Linked DNA regions of Homo sapiens: region 2 is linked to region 1. Evidence: promoter capture Hi-C in 16 types of primary human blood cells and fetal thymus (Javierre and others, 2016). All regions are on one chromosome and are shown on one strand. Each heading gives the region's core, a stretch centred on a gene start or on the middle of the fragment in contact. The rest is flanking DNA. Distances are from core to core; before and after follow the strand shown.

Evidence for each region. Contacts are between HindIII fragments. The CHiCAGO score rates a contact against its expected background, and 5 or more counts as called.
Region 2: a contact is called between a fragment that was not itself captured here and the fragment with the promoter of ZNF213 in region 1, in 2 of 17 cell types (naive CD8 T cells and total CD8 T cells). The highest score is 5.7, in naive CD8 T cells.

The regions. Positions count from the first base shown.
Region 1 is chr16:3,132,967-3,140,355 of GRCh38, reverse strand. ZNF213 (zinc finger protein 213) reads right to left here and starts at 5,327. Exons shown (of 6, transcript NM_004220.3): 1 at 4,969-5,327; 2 at 2,677-3,190; 3 at 1,815-1,938; 4 at 1,538-1,611; 5 at 1,258-1,381. The coding sequence starts at 3,075. ZNF213-AS1 (ZNF213 antisense RNA 1) reads left to right here and starts at 5,474. Exons shown (of 6, transcript NR_110900.1): 1 at 5,474-5,726. RefSeq lists enhancers at 1,392-1,892, 5,377-5,566, 5,577-5,746 and a silencer at 5,037-5,266. The HindIII fragment of the contact is 14,017 bases long and covers 1-7,389 here.
Region 2 is chr16:3,401,654-3,409,042 of GRCh38, reverse strand. It overlaps ZNF174 (zinc finger protein 174), which reads right to left. Exons shown (of 3, transcript NM_003450.3): 1 at 6,637-7,389; 2 at 4,395-4,617; 3 at 1-722. The coding sequence starts at 7,038. The coding sequence ends at 124. Among named protein-coding and RNA genes, the nearest start is that of ZNF174, 4.1 kb to the right of the region's middle. The HindIII fragment of the contact is 171 bases long and covers 4,669-4,839 here.

The sequences.
Region 1 (7,389 bases), core at 4,078-6,577:
CAGCTACTCAGGAGGCTGAGGTAGAAGAATCACTTGAACCCATGAAGCGGAGGTTGCAGTAAGCCGGGATCATGCCATTGCACTCCAAGAGCGAGACTTTGTCTCAAAAACAAACAAAAACCCAAATAAATCAGGGATGATGAAAAAATTCGGCAGAGCAGCAGTCTGAATAAGCCTCTGATCCCGCCTGCATGGGCCAGCCCCCTAAGCCATCTGTGCCCTGCAGGCCACACTGGGATCCAATGTCCCACTCTGAACCCCAGATATCAAGCTCCACAGCAGAACAGATTTATAGTAATTCTGAAACTTTTCAAGGGCCGGGCGCGGTGGCTCACGCCTGTAATCCCAGCACTTTGGGAGGCTGAGGCAGGCGGATCATGAAGTCAGGAGTTCGAGACCAGCCTGACCAACATGGTGAAAACTCGTCTCTATTAAAAATACAAAAAAATTAGCCGGGCATGGTGGCTCATGCCTGTAATCCCAGCTACTCAGGCTGAGGCAGGAGAATTGCTTGAACCCGGGAGGTGGAAGTTTCAGTGAGCTGAGATCACACCACTGCATTCCGGCCTGGCGACAGAGCAAGACTCCATCTCAAAAAAAAAAAAAAGAAAGAAAATTTTTCCCAACCGTCACAGTCGGAAACTGAGGAGCCAAACTGGTCTAGCTAGTGTGGCTCCCTTCACCACGCAGGCTCTAGTTCTCCAAACTCAACACAGATCTGGACAGAGGTCGCAGCCCATCCTCCTGGGAGTGTGACTGAACAAGATGATCCCTGATGGTGCTGAGAAGGGGCCTGGCATGGAGAGGAACCTGGTAAGTGCAGTTCTGACGAGCAGGGGCCCAGGCTGGTGAGCAGCTGGGGTTCCCCGTCAGCACCCCTGCTCCTAGCAGCCCAAGGTGGCCTCACAACTGTGCCTGATCCAAGTCCCAGCTGTGTCCCTTCAGCATCCACTGACCTGAGTCTCAGGTCCCTTATGCGTAAAATGGGGACAATACTTCCATGCACTAGGTTGTGAGACTCAAAGGAGAAGTTGCCCTTAGAGCAACTGCAGGGCTGGGCAGCGCCGGCGCCGTCCCATGCTGCATGTGGAAACGCACAAAAACTGATCATCAGCCAAGAAAGGAGTTACTCAGGCTCCTGGCAAGACCTAGGGAGAGCCTGCTTTGGAACCAGCTAAGGATGGGGTGGGAAACAAGACTGAAGTTCCAGCAGAATCGGGGGCGGCCAGCCTGGACCCAAAGGCCCTGGGTGCTTACCCAGGGTGGTGTTCCGGGAGTTCTCCCGCTTTATGTCCCAGAAGAGATCCCGCTGAGCAGGGTCCAGGGTGCCCCATTCTTCCCGGGAGAAATAGAATGGGATGTCTCCCAATGCCACAGGTCCCTGGAATGGGGTGAGAAGACCCGGCTCAGGCCTCCCAGCAGCACTGGCGGGGACAGGATGGGTCAGATGAAAGAGGCCTGATGGGACAGCAAGTCCCATTTTACAAACTCAACAGGGCCAAGTGCCTTAAAGAAGACAAAGGGACTGGTGACTCACATGGACCCCAGAGACAAAGCAGGTGTCCGTCGTCTCTCCGGGACGACCCTCTTTAAGAAGAGCAGGAGGCTGGGCTGAAGGAGAAGAATGGAGCCTTAGAAAGGCCAGCCCAGGCTTGACACCGACGCCTATGGCCTCCCCAGCCTGTGCGCATGCACACACGCCCTGGACTTCACAGAGGGAGCTGTCCTGCCTGTGACCCTTAGGGCAACGCCGGTGACAAAGCTAGGTCCCTGCCCAGCCACTCGACTGTCCACAAGAACGGAGGCTTACTCACCGCTATGGCTGTGCTGCTCCTGGGGAACAGACGGCCGCCTCCGTGCCCCCACCGTCGGGGGAGGCCCCGTGGCCTGGGATCCCCGGCCTGCAGCCTCGGGTTCCGCCTCCTCCGAGGGCACATCCTGTGCAGGAACCACAACATGCTCATCAGCCCGAGACCAGACCGGGGGAGACAGAGTTTACTCCCTGGGAAGGAGACACAGGACATGACCCTCAGGATGCTGGGGTGTGGGAAGGAGACCAATATGGTGCCCCAGGAAAAGTCCGGAGGAGAATGTGATACCAGGTAATGCTGTGTGCCCAAGGATGCTCCCCGATCATTCACGAGGCAAGAACCAGCCCTGAAAGGCCAGAATCACAGCCACTTAGCAAGGGGGTAGCTGGGGACCCTCCTGCCAAAGGCAGAACCCCATCCCCCAGCCACTCATTAGAACCTCCCCAGATGCATCCAATGTGAAGGACCCAACATCCCACAAGGTAGCAGAGGCCCCGGACAGCTCCACCTTCTCGCCCCACTCTGGAGCTGGCTCTATGCACACCCTTGTGTCCCCAGAGCCAGGCCTAGAGCAAAATGCAAATAAACATCAGCAGACCCTGCATGGAGCTAAAACCTCCTGTCTGGAACATTCGCACTTCAGCCCTATTGCTGCCTTCCAAAGCCACAAAAAATAAATCACATTTACTTTGGATCGCATCTTTCAGAAAGGCACCCATGGCACACTGTGCTTGTGTGCCTGCTCCTGGGGGCTCTGTGTCTCCCCTACCCTGTGAGCCTCTGGGAGACTTATCTCTGCAGGTTACCCACTTCTCTCGAGCTCAGATACCATCCAGGTGCCCCTGGATGTGGAAGGGCCCCTCACCTGTCGCCAGGCTTTCACTGGCTGCTTCTGTAGGTCCTCCACCAAGGCGACAGCCTCCTCACCGCTTCCCGGGTGCTGCTCACGCACCCAGCCCTGGATCTCCCCTGGCAGCACTGTCAGGAACTGCTCCAGCACCAGCAGCTCCAGGATCTGCTCCTTGGTACGCAGCTCGGGCCGCAGCCAGCGGCAGCAGAGCTCCCAGAGCTGGCTGAAGGCCTCATGAGGCCCATGCACATCCCCGTAGCAGAATTGCCGGAAGCGCTGGCGGCAGGCTTCGGAATCCCTGCCATCCTCATGCTGGGCAGATTCCTGTTCCCAGGAGGAATCTTCCACTTTCACAATCAGAAGCCCTTCTCCCTCCCCAGGGGCCTGGTCCTGGGCCTCCAAGGGGGCTGCCATTCCCCTGGCCTGAGGCTCAGGGTTGGTCGGCTTCAACCTGGGCCCCAGAACCTGTACTTTCAGTCTCCCAGAGGGATCCCCTGTGGTAGCTGGGCTGGCATCTGGATGTGTACTCCTGGGGAAAGAGCAAAATGGCAGGACTGAGGAGGAAGGATGTGGAATACACGAGCAAACCCCAGGCTGAAGAGCCATCCAGTCCCCATCCTTTCATGGCCCTGAAGCCTTTTCTAGGCTTTACTGTAATGCCTTGCTCATGTGACTGTCTCTCCTATTAACACAGGCCCACAAGCTCTCATCCCAAAGCCAGAAATCCAAAACCCGGGTGTTTCATAACTCTTTGACAGCAAAACCCAATGTCATTCATTTGGCAGCACCACCTGACCTGATATAAGCATATTTATAATCTCAATTTATTCCACTAAATGTAAATGTTCAAAATTATGGTGGAAATATTAATAACATATATCTTCAGTTTATAAAATTTCATTGAGCTATACCCACTCGTGTGTTTTTCTGTATTGCACATTATACATCAATTAAATATCTTTTTTTTTTTTTTTTACTGAGAGAGAGTCTCACTCTGTCGCCCAGGCTGGAGTGCAGTGGCGCAATCTCAGTTCACTGCAACCTCTGCCTGCCAGGTTCAAGCGATTCTCCTGCTTCAGCCTCCCAAGTAGCTGGGACTACAGGCACCAGCTACCACGTCCAGCTAATTTTTTGTATTTTTAGTAGAGACGAGGTTTCACCATGTTGGCCAGGATGGTCTCAAACTCCTGACCTTGTGATCCACCCGCCTCGGCCTCCTAAAGTGCTGGGATTACAGGCGTGAGCCACTGCGCCCGGCCTAATTAAAAAATTTTAACTGATATGTTTCATTATTTAGTGTTGCCCCAGATCCCTCTGGAGATGTGCTTGATATATCGTCTGTGCACTATATTATCTTTCTCAAATTTGAAAACCTCTGAATTCCAAAACACATCTGGCCCTGAGGTGTCACAGAAGGGCTTACAGACACCATCCAAAGCCATTTATCCACAGGTACATATAAATGTATGACACATTTATACCTTACATTGTTACTCTCTACTGAAAAGTGTATTATGCAATTTTCAGTAATCGATTTTTTGTTTCAACAATAAAAATACAAACTGGCCGGGCTTGGTGGCTTATGCCTGTAATCCCAGCATTTTGGGAGACAGACACAGGATGATTGCTTGAGGCCAGGGGTTCAAGACCCCTTTGGGAAGACAATGTGAGACGCCATCTGTACCAAAAAACAAAAAAAGCCAGGTGGGGCTCCTGTAGTCCCAGCTACTGGGGAGGCTGAGGAGGAAAGATTGCTTGAGTCCAGGAGTTTGAGGTTGCAATGAGCTATGATCGCACCACTGTACTCCAGCCTGGGCAACAGAGTGAGACCATCTCAAAAAAAAAAAAAAAAGAAAGAAAAGAAAAGTAAAAAGAAAATGAAAAAAATACAAACCATCTTAATAAAAAAGGGAAGATTCAAACAATATAGAAATCTGTAAAACTCTCCCTTCCTCAATACCATTGTACCCCCCGACTTAACAGTCTGACAAATGACGTCCCAGACCTTTTCCTGTGCTTTTACTAAAAAAGTCATCCATAGCGGGGAGAAAAGGTGCTTGATGTGTTTCTACATAAATGAGACCTTACTGCACAGACATTAGCGGCACTATGAGCTTCCGCGGTATGGATATGCTCTAGTTTCTTAATCAATACTCGAGTGATGCATTCGGGTTGTTTCCAATTCTTTAGTCCATCCTAAGCACTTTATTTATTCTGCTCCTCACAAGACCCCTGAAAGGTGCGCGCACCATTCTCATCCTCTGGTGACTTCGAAGAAGACTTTCCTCGAAGAGGGCCAGGACTCACCAGGGTCGCTCAGCAGGACACGGCAGGCGGGAAGGCGAGCCAGCCGGAGCCCCGCGCTGTCCACCGCAGCCTCGCCCGCGGGGCGAGCGGCGATCGTACAGGGGCGTCTGCCGGGGGACCAAGCTGGCAGAGCGGCGCGGGGGACCAGCACTTCCTAGCAGTGCGCGCGCCCTCCGGCCTCTGCCTCGGGGCGCTGATCCCGGCCACTCGGAGCCCGGTGCTTGATGTTGGAGCCAGGCGGCCAGAGGCCCCGTCCCCGCCCCGGCCCCCGCCCCCGCCCCCGCCCCCGAAACACACAACGCCCACTACGGCCCAGGAGATCCCACTTCCGCCGCGAGCTCCCGGCGCCGGAAGTCCTCGCGGGGCTCGCTGGGAAACTACGCTACGCAAGCATTCCCCAGCTCCCAGAAAGCCGTTCGTCCACTGAGCCCGCCTTCTCCATGACCGATGGCCAATGAACAGGAAGAATTCTCAGGCTGCCTATTAGAAGACAGAAACTCCATACGCGTCATACACCTGCACCCGGGAGGAAAGGCGAGGCTCTGCATCTAGATTTACCTCGTTCTCTTTTGTCTCCGCTTTTTTTTCACATTTCCTTGCGACCCTGGCCCTTGAGCGACAAAAAGGGGAAGCCAAGGCTGGCCCGAGGAACGGAGAGGGCACATGGCCTAGCCACAAGTGGAGCTTCTGCTCCGCCCGAAGGGATGCGCTGGAGCGGCCTCTTCCTTCTGCCACGGTCTTTCTTTGCCAACTAGTAGGTGAGGGCCGAAAGGCCGCGGGCCGTGGAGCTCGGGCCGGGGAGACTCTTTTCTAGCCTCTTGGGTCCCGCTCCTCCCAATTCCCTGGAGAGGCGTCGAGCTTGCTGGGAAGTGCCCTCGGGTAAGGGGCGCGGAGCCTCCTGCGGCGATCCTCTGTCTTCGGGTCGCCTTAGCAGGACGCGGCAAGCGGGACACTGACCTGGCCGGAGTCCCGCGTTCTCTCACCAGCTGCTTTGTCCACGAGTTGCTGCTGGGCGTCAGGGGTCCCACGGCCCGGAGGGATCTAGAGCAGGGGGGCTCGGGGTCCTTTCCATACCCTCGGATCCTCTCCCACTCTCTCCACGCCTCGACCCGGAGATGATTTCAGGCTCCAGATCTCTTTCATAAATGGAAAGAGTTTTTTTGGTTTGTTTTGTCTTAATTATGTAGGTGTTGCATGCTTGGAAGAGAAAATTTAGAAAATTAATTGGAAAACCATAAAGATAGCTTTCTCGTGATAGCCACAAGGCTTGCTCCCTCATTCTGCTCATATGTCACCCCCTCAAGGAGGCCTTCCCCAGCTCTGTAAACAACCTGTGCTCGGCGTTAACTTTTCTCCCTAATGTTTATCACTACCTGACATATACGTGTTTCCCACGACTCAACGATAAGTGTTCATGAGGGCAGACACTTTTTAATGCCCTATGACAAGCACCTAGAATTGTGCCTGGCACATGGTAGATGCTTAGTAAATATTTGTTTAATGAATGAAGGTAAAAAACATTTCTAATACGACCATCCAGGAATAAGTACTATTCATGTTTTAGTGTGTTCTTACAGTTTTACTGTTCAGACAGTTATATGCCTGTGAATATATATTATATATGTGTGTATATATATATATATATATATATATATATTTTTTTTTTTTTTTTGAGACAGAGTCTCGCTCTGTCACCCAGGCTGGACTGCAGTGGCGCGATCTTGGCTCACTGCAACCTCCGCCTCCTGGATTCAAGCGATTCTTCTGCCTCAGCCTCCCGAGTAGCTAGGATTACAGGCATGTGTCACCACGCCCGGCTAATTTTGTATTTTTAGTAGAGACGGGGTTTCTCCGTGTTGGTCAGGCTGGTCTCGAACTCCTGACCTCAGGTGATCTGCCCGCCTCGGCCTCCCAAAGTGCTGAGATTACAGACGTGAGCCACCGTGCCTGGCGGAATTTTCATATTTTAAGTCCCCCACCCTTGGACATTTAGATTTTTTCCATCTTTCTGTATTTGCAGATATGCTTCTACGTACACCTTTATTCATTTGCTTGAACATTTCCCTGAGAAAAACTAGAAATGGAATTGCCAGATTACTTTGTGTACATGTTTCCAAACTGTCCTCCAGAAAGAATGTAATGCTTTGAACTTCCACTTGAGAATCAAATGTTTACCTTCCTCTGTTCCTCCAGATTTGGACATTTACAGTGTTCAGCCGTTGTTGTGGCATTCCAATTCAATTGGGAAACAGCTTGATGTAGCGTCCCCATAAGGTCCACAGTAATTAAATTTTTTTTTTTTTTTTTTGGTGCGGTAGTGCAATTTCATGGCTCACTGCAACCTCCACCTCCCAGGTTCAAGCGATCCTCCCATCTCAGCCTCCCTAGTAGCTGGGATTACAGGTGCACGCCACCACACCA
Region 2 (7,389 bases), core at 3,505-6,004, 270 kb before region 1:
ATCATTCCTCAAGGGCCTCGTGCTTTCCTTGTAAGTCACACAGTTTTTGTGATTTACATGCAAGTAAGGGGGAGGAGAAACACAAACACCTTCCGTGTGAATCTAAAGCATGGAGTGCTCCTTTTAGTCCCCATGGTGAAGTCGGTGATGCTGGTGAAGGTTTGAGCTCTGGCGAAAGCTTTTCCCACACTGGCCACACTGGTATGGCTTCTCTCCAGTGTGGATCCTCTGGTGCAGCTTCAGGGTTGACTGCCGCCCAAAGCAGTTTCCACACTCTCCGCACGTGTAGGGTCTCTCTCCTGTGTGGACTCTCTTGTGTCTCTTCAGCTCTGAATTCCACGTGAAGCTTTTCCCACAGTCATCACATTTGTAGGGTTTCTTTGCTGAGCGGGTGGGCTGGTGACCAAGATGTTGCAAACGGTTGCTCAGACTCCGTTTACCTCCTTTGCTTTTCTTTAGCTCTCTCAGTGGGTGGCTTTTTAGGGGGCTGCTGATGTATTCCACCCTGCAATGTCTCTGGTAGTGAGCAAATGGCTTTTGAGCATTTGGGGAGCTGACCTGCCTCCGTGACAACCGAGGTTCACTCATATTTGCCCCTCTTGGTTCAGGATTCTGCAGACCATTCCCTTTGGATCTGCCAGCTGACACTGCACATGGCTTTGCTCCTTTAGCCCCTTCCTGTTGTGGATTTTCCTTGTTGTCACTTCTCATTCTGGGGGCCTCTATAATTAGAAAGAAAATGCTTCATTTTCTGCACTTGGAAGAAATAACTTCAGCAAGAGTTATGAAATACTCTGAGAGGTTTCTCAAAGGGTGGCCCTCCGCTGGCAACTTGCATTAGACTCATCTGGAGCACTTGTTAAACAAGCAGGCTCTTCACCCTTCCCCCAGAGCTGCTGGGTCAGAATCTCGGGGGGTTGGGCCTGATAATCTGCACAGTTAGCAGGCTCCTGGGGTGACTGTGATTTATATTAAATTTAGGAACCAAGTTCTCCATCCTCCTTCTTCCTTTCTCCCTTTAGGGAAAGGTTTAGGAAATGAAGAACAGGGAAAAGCAAACCCATCAGAATTGGGTATCTAATGAAGAAGGAAGAGAGGTGAAATCTCAACATTGCAAATTTTACTGCTGTAGTCCAATGCCTGAGCTATTTCAACAAATACCCCTCACTTAGTAAACACTAATTGACAACCACCTTCTCTTCAAAAGATGGTAAGTTCAGAGACTGTGATGTTTTCTTTCATTACAAATTTGACAGTATATGAGTTCAGAAACTGGAATCAGGGCTTAGCCATGTATCCTAATTACAGAAGGATTGACAGTCTGGATGGAGATGAGCTGGAACGGCCTATGGGAAATCACAGGATCTGGAGAAGGATCCCTTGTGATGTGGAAAATGTGTGTGTGCACACGTGCATGCACAGGCACATGCACGTTGTTCAATATGGCAGCCACTAGCCACATGTGACTATGTGGCTACTGGGTACTTGAAATGTGACTACTGTGACTAAGGAACTTAATTTTAAATTTTTTTTTAATTTTAATTCATTTAAATTCAAATGTAAATAATCAGCCTATACAATCAGGGTCAATTGCTTTTTGACAAGACAATTCAATGGGAAAAGAATAGTCTTTTTCATAAAGGATTCTAGGACTACTGGATTTCCACATACAAGAGAATGAAGTTGGACCCTGCTATGGTCTGAATGTTTATCCCCCCTGTCCCCTGACACACATATATTGACAGTCCCCAGTGCAGTGGTCTTGGGAGGTGGGGCATCTGGGAGGTGATTAGGTTATGAGGGTGGGGTCCTCATAAATGGGATTAGTGTCCTTATAAAAGAAACCCAAGAGACTACCATGTGGGGACTCATAGCAGGCACCATTTATGAGGAATGGGCCCTCGCCAGACACCAAATCTGCTGGCACCTTGATCTTGAACTTCCCAGTATCCAGGAACTATGAGCAACAAATTTCTGTTGTTTATAAATTACCTAGTCTAAGGCAATTTGTTGTAAGAGCCTGATCAGATTAAGACAGACCCCTGATCAGATTGACAGACCCCTACCTCAAAACCTATATAAAAATTGACTTGTTTATGTATGGGGAAAAAATAAACTTAAAATGGACCAAATAGCTGAAAGTAAGAGCTAAATCTATGTCTCCTTGAAGAAACCATAGCTGTACATATTTGTGCCCTTGGATTAGGCAGTGCTATTTTACATATGACACCAAAGCATAAAGAAAGAAAAAAATAGATAAATTAGACTGCAGCAAAATGAAAAACGTGTGCGTCAAAGGACACTGTCAAGAAAGTGAGACAACCCACAAAATGAGAGAAAAGATTTGCAAATTACACATAAGGGTCTAGTATCTAGAATACATAAAGGACTCTTATAAAAAATAAAGACAAATAACCTAATTTAAAAATGACCAAAGGATCTGAACAGATATTTTTCCACACAAGATATGTAACTGGATAATAAGCACATGAAAAGATGTTCAACACCATTAGTCACTAGGGAAATGTAAATCAAAACCTCAAATCAAAATTTCTCACCGAATAGGATGGGTATAAGACAATAACAAGTGCTAGCAAGAATGTGGAGAAATCGGAATCCTCACACAGTATTGGTGGGGATGTAAAATGGTGTAGCTGCTTTGGAAAACAGTCTGGTAGTTCCTCATAAGTTAAACATGGAATTACCACATGACCTAGCATATGGTAATTCCACTCCTAGGTATATACTCAAGAGAAATGAAAACATGTCTACACAAAAACACACATTTATAGCAGCATTCTTCATAATAACCAAAAAGTAGAAACAACCCAAAAATCTATGAACAGATGAACCAACATGAACAGAAAACCAACATGTAATATATCCGTACAATGCCTATTATTCAGCCACAGAAAAGGAATGAAGCACTGATTGATGCTACAGCATGGATAAAACTTGAAAACATGCTCAGTGAAAGAAGCCACACACAAAAGACCACATATTGTGTGATTCAATTTATTTATTTATTTATTTTTGAGACAGGGTCTTACTTTGTCACATAGGCTAGAGTGCAGTGGCACGATCTCAGTTCACTGCAGCCTCGACCTCCCAGGTTGAAGTGATCCTCCTGCCTCAGCTCCCCCAAGCAGCTGGGATTACAGGTGTGCAGCACCATGCCCCGCTAATTTTTGCATTTTTTGTAGAGACAGGATTTCGCCATGTTGCCCAGGCTGGTCTCGAACTCCTGAGCCTAAGTGATCCGCCTGCCTTGGCCTCCCAAAGTGCTGGGATTACAGGCGTGAGCCACTGTGCCCGGCCTGTGTGATTCCATTTGTATAAAATGTTCAGAATAAGCAATTCTAGAGACAAAAAGTAGACTGTGGTTGCCAGGGGCTAAATGTTTATGTTCCTCCAAATTCATATGAAATTCTAACTCCCAAGGTAATAGTGTTAGGACATGGGGCCTTTGGGAGGTGATTAGGTCATGAGGGTGCTGCCCTCACTGGAATGGGATTAGTGCCTTCATGAAAGAGCCCCACGGGAGCCTGTCTTCCCCTTCTGCCACATGAGGACTGAGAAGTAGGCAGTCTGTGACCTGGAAGAGGGGCCTCACTGGAACCCAACCATGCTGGCACCTTGAACTCAGACTTCCTAGCCTCTAGAACTGTGAGAAATAAACTCCTGTTGTTTATAAACTACCTAGTCTCTAGCATTTTATATTAGCAGCCTGAACAGACTAAAACACGAAGTACCTCATTGGATGTAGCAAATATTAAGAAACTGAGGATTTTTGTCGTCTTGTAACCCTCCTCCCTAACGTGCTCACTGTATCTTGTATTCACATCACCAGGCTTGGCCAAAATGTCACTGTCATTCAGGCTTAGAGATCACAGGACTGTGTAGAACAAGGCCAGCAGTTACACAAGTATCACACCAGAGAAAGGGAAATAGATTTGAGGATCTAAAGTACAAGCAACATCACAGAGGAGGACAAAGATATAAGATATAGGGTGGGTTTTTATTTCTACCAGGCCCCTCTAAACAGAGGAGCATTTTAAGCAATGAAACTCAGCCATAGCTTGCATGGAAGTTCATCTGTGGCCATATTTGGATCTGTCTTTTCTATAAGAAGTTCTGAAACGGACAGAAAAGTAGGTACAACCCTGTCATGCACTGGATTCTTAAATTTTCATTAACAGAAAACGATAAAAACATACTTACTTGTAGTATCACCACCATCCTAATTAGTGAAATTTGTTTAGTGAATAATCATCTACTATTATATATAACATTTAAAAAAACACACACATGTGGTCTATGCCTTTGCAGAACCATGAGATACATTGATGGAGATAAAGGGCTGATGAGAGGGAGAGAAAAGGCAGAGTGTTTACCTGTCCCAGCCAATTTGGGGGTTGGTTCTTGGAGGAGTGGGGATTTCTCCCAATGATGGGGGCTCAGCCGGTCATAAGCTCCTGCCTGGGAAGGCTCTGCTGGAGAGCTCTCCCTGAGATCTCTCCTAGGAGTCTGCGGTTGAAAGTCTGGCAGTTCCTGTTCTCCAAGCTGAGATCCAGTTTTCTCCAAGAGCACCTTTTGCCCCTGCATACAAACGGCCACCTAGGAACAAGCCCCATCCATTAATTCCATCCATCAGGACTGAGGGAAGCTTGATCTCTCACTGTTGTATAATGACCCGTTTACCTTGGGAATTGCTGATAACCATCTAGAGGTCAACTTTCATAGAAACCACTGAAACCCTCAAAGGAAGTAAAGGGGAGAACGTGAAGAATGACAGGAATGAGGATGCTACAAATCAGCCGAGTGGCTTCCCCTAAAGCTTGGGCCTTTCTCAAGGGCCAGAGTCAAAGTCATCAGGGTAGTTGCTGGCACAAATATCAGGGTCAGTCACAACACTGGGCCATCAGATGCCTACTCTACACACCACCCCCCACCTACTTCTGCTGGAAATAGGCCCTGTAGGAACAGGAAGCAGTATGGTGAGGGGCTGTTAAAAGTCCTTCTTACCTAATACATTGTTCTGCCAAAGGCTTTCCTGGTAAGGAGATCCCAGTAGTAGTAGGGGTCTAAGAGGACCACCCCACCTTCATTCCCTAACAAGTTCTATTTTCCGAAGTACCTGCCGTTTGCTTCTTGCCTAGGTCCTGACTGGGGTCTGACTTCGGGGCGGGGAGTGGCAAGCAATGGCAACGCTGGCCAGTTGAACTGTAACTTCCTGATCCAAAGACAATAAGCTAGTCAGGCATTGTGTGGCTCACTCCTGTAATCCCAGCACTTTGGGAGGTCAAGACGGGCGGATCGCCTGGGCCCAAGAAGAGTTCAAGACCAGCCTGGGCAATGTGGAGAAACCCTGTCTCTACAAAAGTACAAAAATTAGCCACGCATGGTGGCATGTACCTGCAGTCCCAGCTACTTGAGAGGCTGAGGTGTGAGGAACACTTGAGCTGGACATGGAGGTTGCAGCGAGCTGAGATCGTGCCACTGCCCTCCAGCCTCAGCAACACAGTGAGACCCAGTCTCAAAAAAAAAAAAAAAAATCAAAGACAAAAAGCTAGGCCAGGTGTGGTGGCTCACGCCTGTAATCCCAGCACTTTGAGAGGCCAAGGCGGGAGGATCACTTGAGGTCAGGAGTTCGAGACTAGCCTGGCCAACATAGTGAAACCCCCTCTCTACTAAAAAGTACAAAAATTAGCTGGGCGTGGTGGCAGGCACCTGTAAACCCAGCTACTCAGGAGGCTGAGACCTGAGAATCGCTTGAACCTGGGGTGCAGAGGTTGCAGTGGGCTGAAATGGCACCACTGCACTCCAGCTTGGGAAACACAGCAAGACTCCATCTCAAAAAAAAAAAAAAAAAAAAAAAAAAAAAAAAAAAAAGACTATAAGCTAAACACTGGAAAGACAATAAGCTAGAACTTCCAATGAAATGAAGTTCCCCAAAGTCCAACTGCTACCCAACAGGGTGACCCTATCTGCTAAGAATTCTGCTAGTAGGAAAACTAAGTTGGGTGGGGGAAGAGCTGACAGAAGGGATTTAAGAACCTTACAATTACTTCTGGTGACACAAGGTGCATAAAGGAATGGTAAGAACCTTGGTCCTCTGTTGCCTCACTGGGTATCAGTAGTTGGATTTTCTAAAAACCTGTTAATAACTCAGGATAGGTTCCCAGATAGAGGCTGGAAGCAACTTCTGAAGCCATCCAGTCCACTTCTGAGACTTAAATAGGGAGAGATCCAGATACCAAACATTACCCAGATGAAAAAGAAATCGGCCGGGCACGGTGGCTCACACCTGTAGTCCCAGCACTTTGGGAGGCCGAGGCGGGCGGATCACGAGGTCAGGAGATCGAGACCATCCTGGCTAACACGGTGAAACCCTGTCTCTACTAAAAATACAAAAAATTAGCCGGGCGCGGTGGCGGGCGCCTGTAGTCCCAGCTACTCGGGAGGCTGAGGCAGGAGAATGGCGTGAACCCGGGAGGCGGAGCTTGCAGTGAGCCGAGATAGCGCCACTGCACTCGGGCCTGGGCGAAAGAGCAAGATTCCGTCTCAAAAAAAGAAAAAAAAAAAAAAAGAAAAGAAAAAGAAATCCCCAGGATGATGGGAGAGGACCCTCCTTACCCACTGCTTTGGTTTCTTGGATGCTCTGTGAAAATCTTCCACGAGGGTCACAATCTCCTTGCTGCTCATTGGACATCGATGCCTGACCCGAGCCTGGATCTCCGGGGGCAGGATGGTCAGGAACTGCTCCATCACCAGAAGCTCCAAAATCTGCTCCTTGGTGTGCAGCTCGGGTTGCAACCACTGACGGCAGAGCTGTCGGAGCTGGGAGAGAGCCTCTTGGGGTCCAGACACCTCTTGATAACAAAAGCGTCTGAAGCTCTGGCGGCAGAGCTCAGGATCTGGGCAGTTTTTTTGCAGAGGAGGGCCCCGTTTCTCTTCTAGTTTGGCTATTATGTGTCTCTCTTGCTTGGAGGAAGCTTCAGTGTTGGAGCTTAAAGTTATCTCCATTTTAGCTGCCATTTTGGGCGTCAGGAGACAACTCTCTCCTTGTAAACGGGTTAAGCCTTTGGGATCATGACCCTGGAGAAGTCTCTGAATACTAGAAAGATTCTAGAAACGAAGGTTCTCTGAGGATGTTAGGGGGAACGGGATGCAGAGACAAAGCCTCACTTGCTAGCCTTTACTAGCCAAACTCAAGACAACGCGGTCCCTGGGAGTGGGAAGAGTTTTGTCTTCTTGTCAGTTTTTTGCAGTCTTGCAAAGGAGAAAAGTCATAACGTCCTAAAAGGACTCTGGGGAAAAAATACTTCTTTTATTTCAGTAGCAAGCACACAGGTCTCGGATTTAATGAGCAATACGCTCTAACCGGCG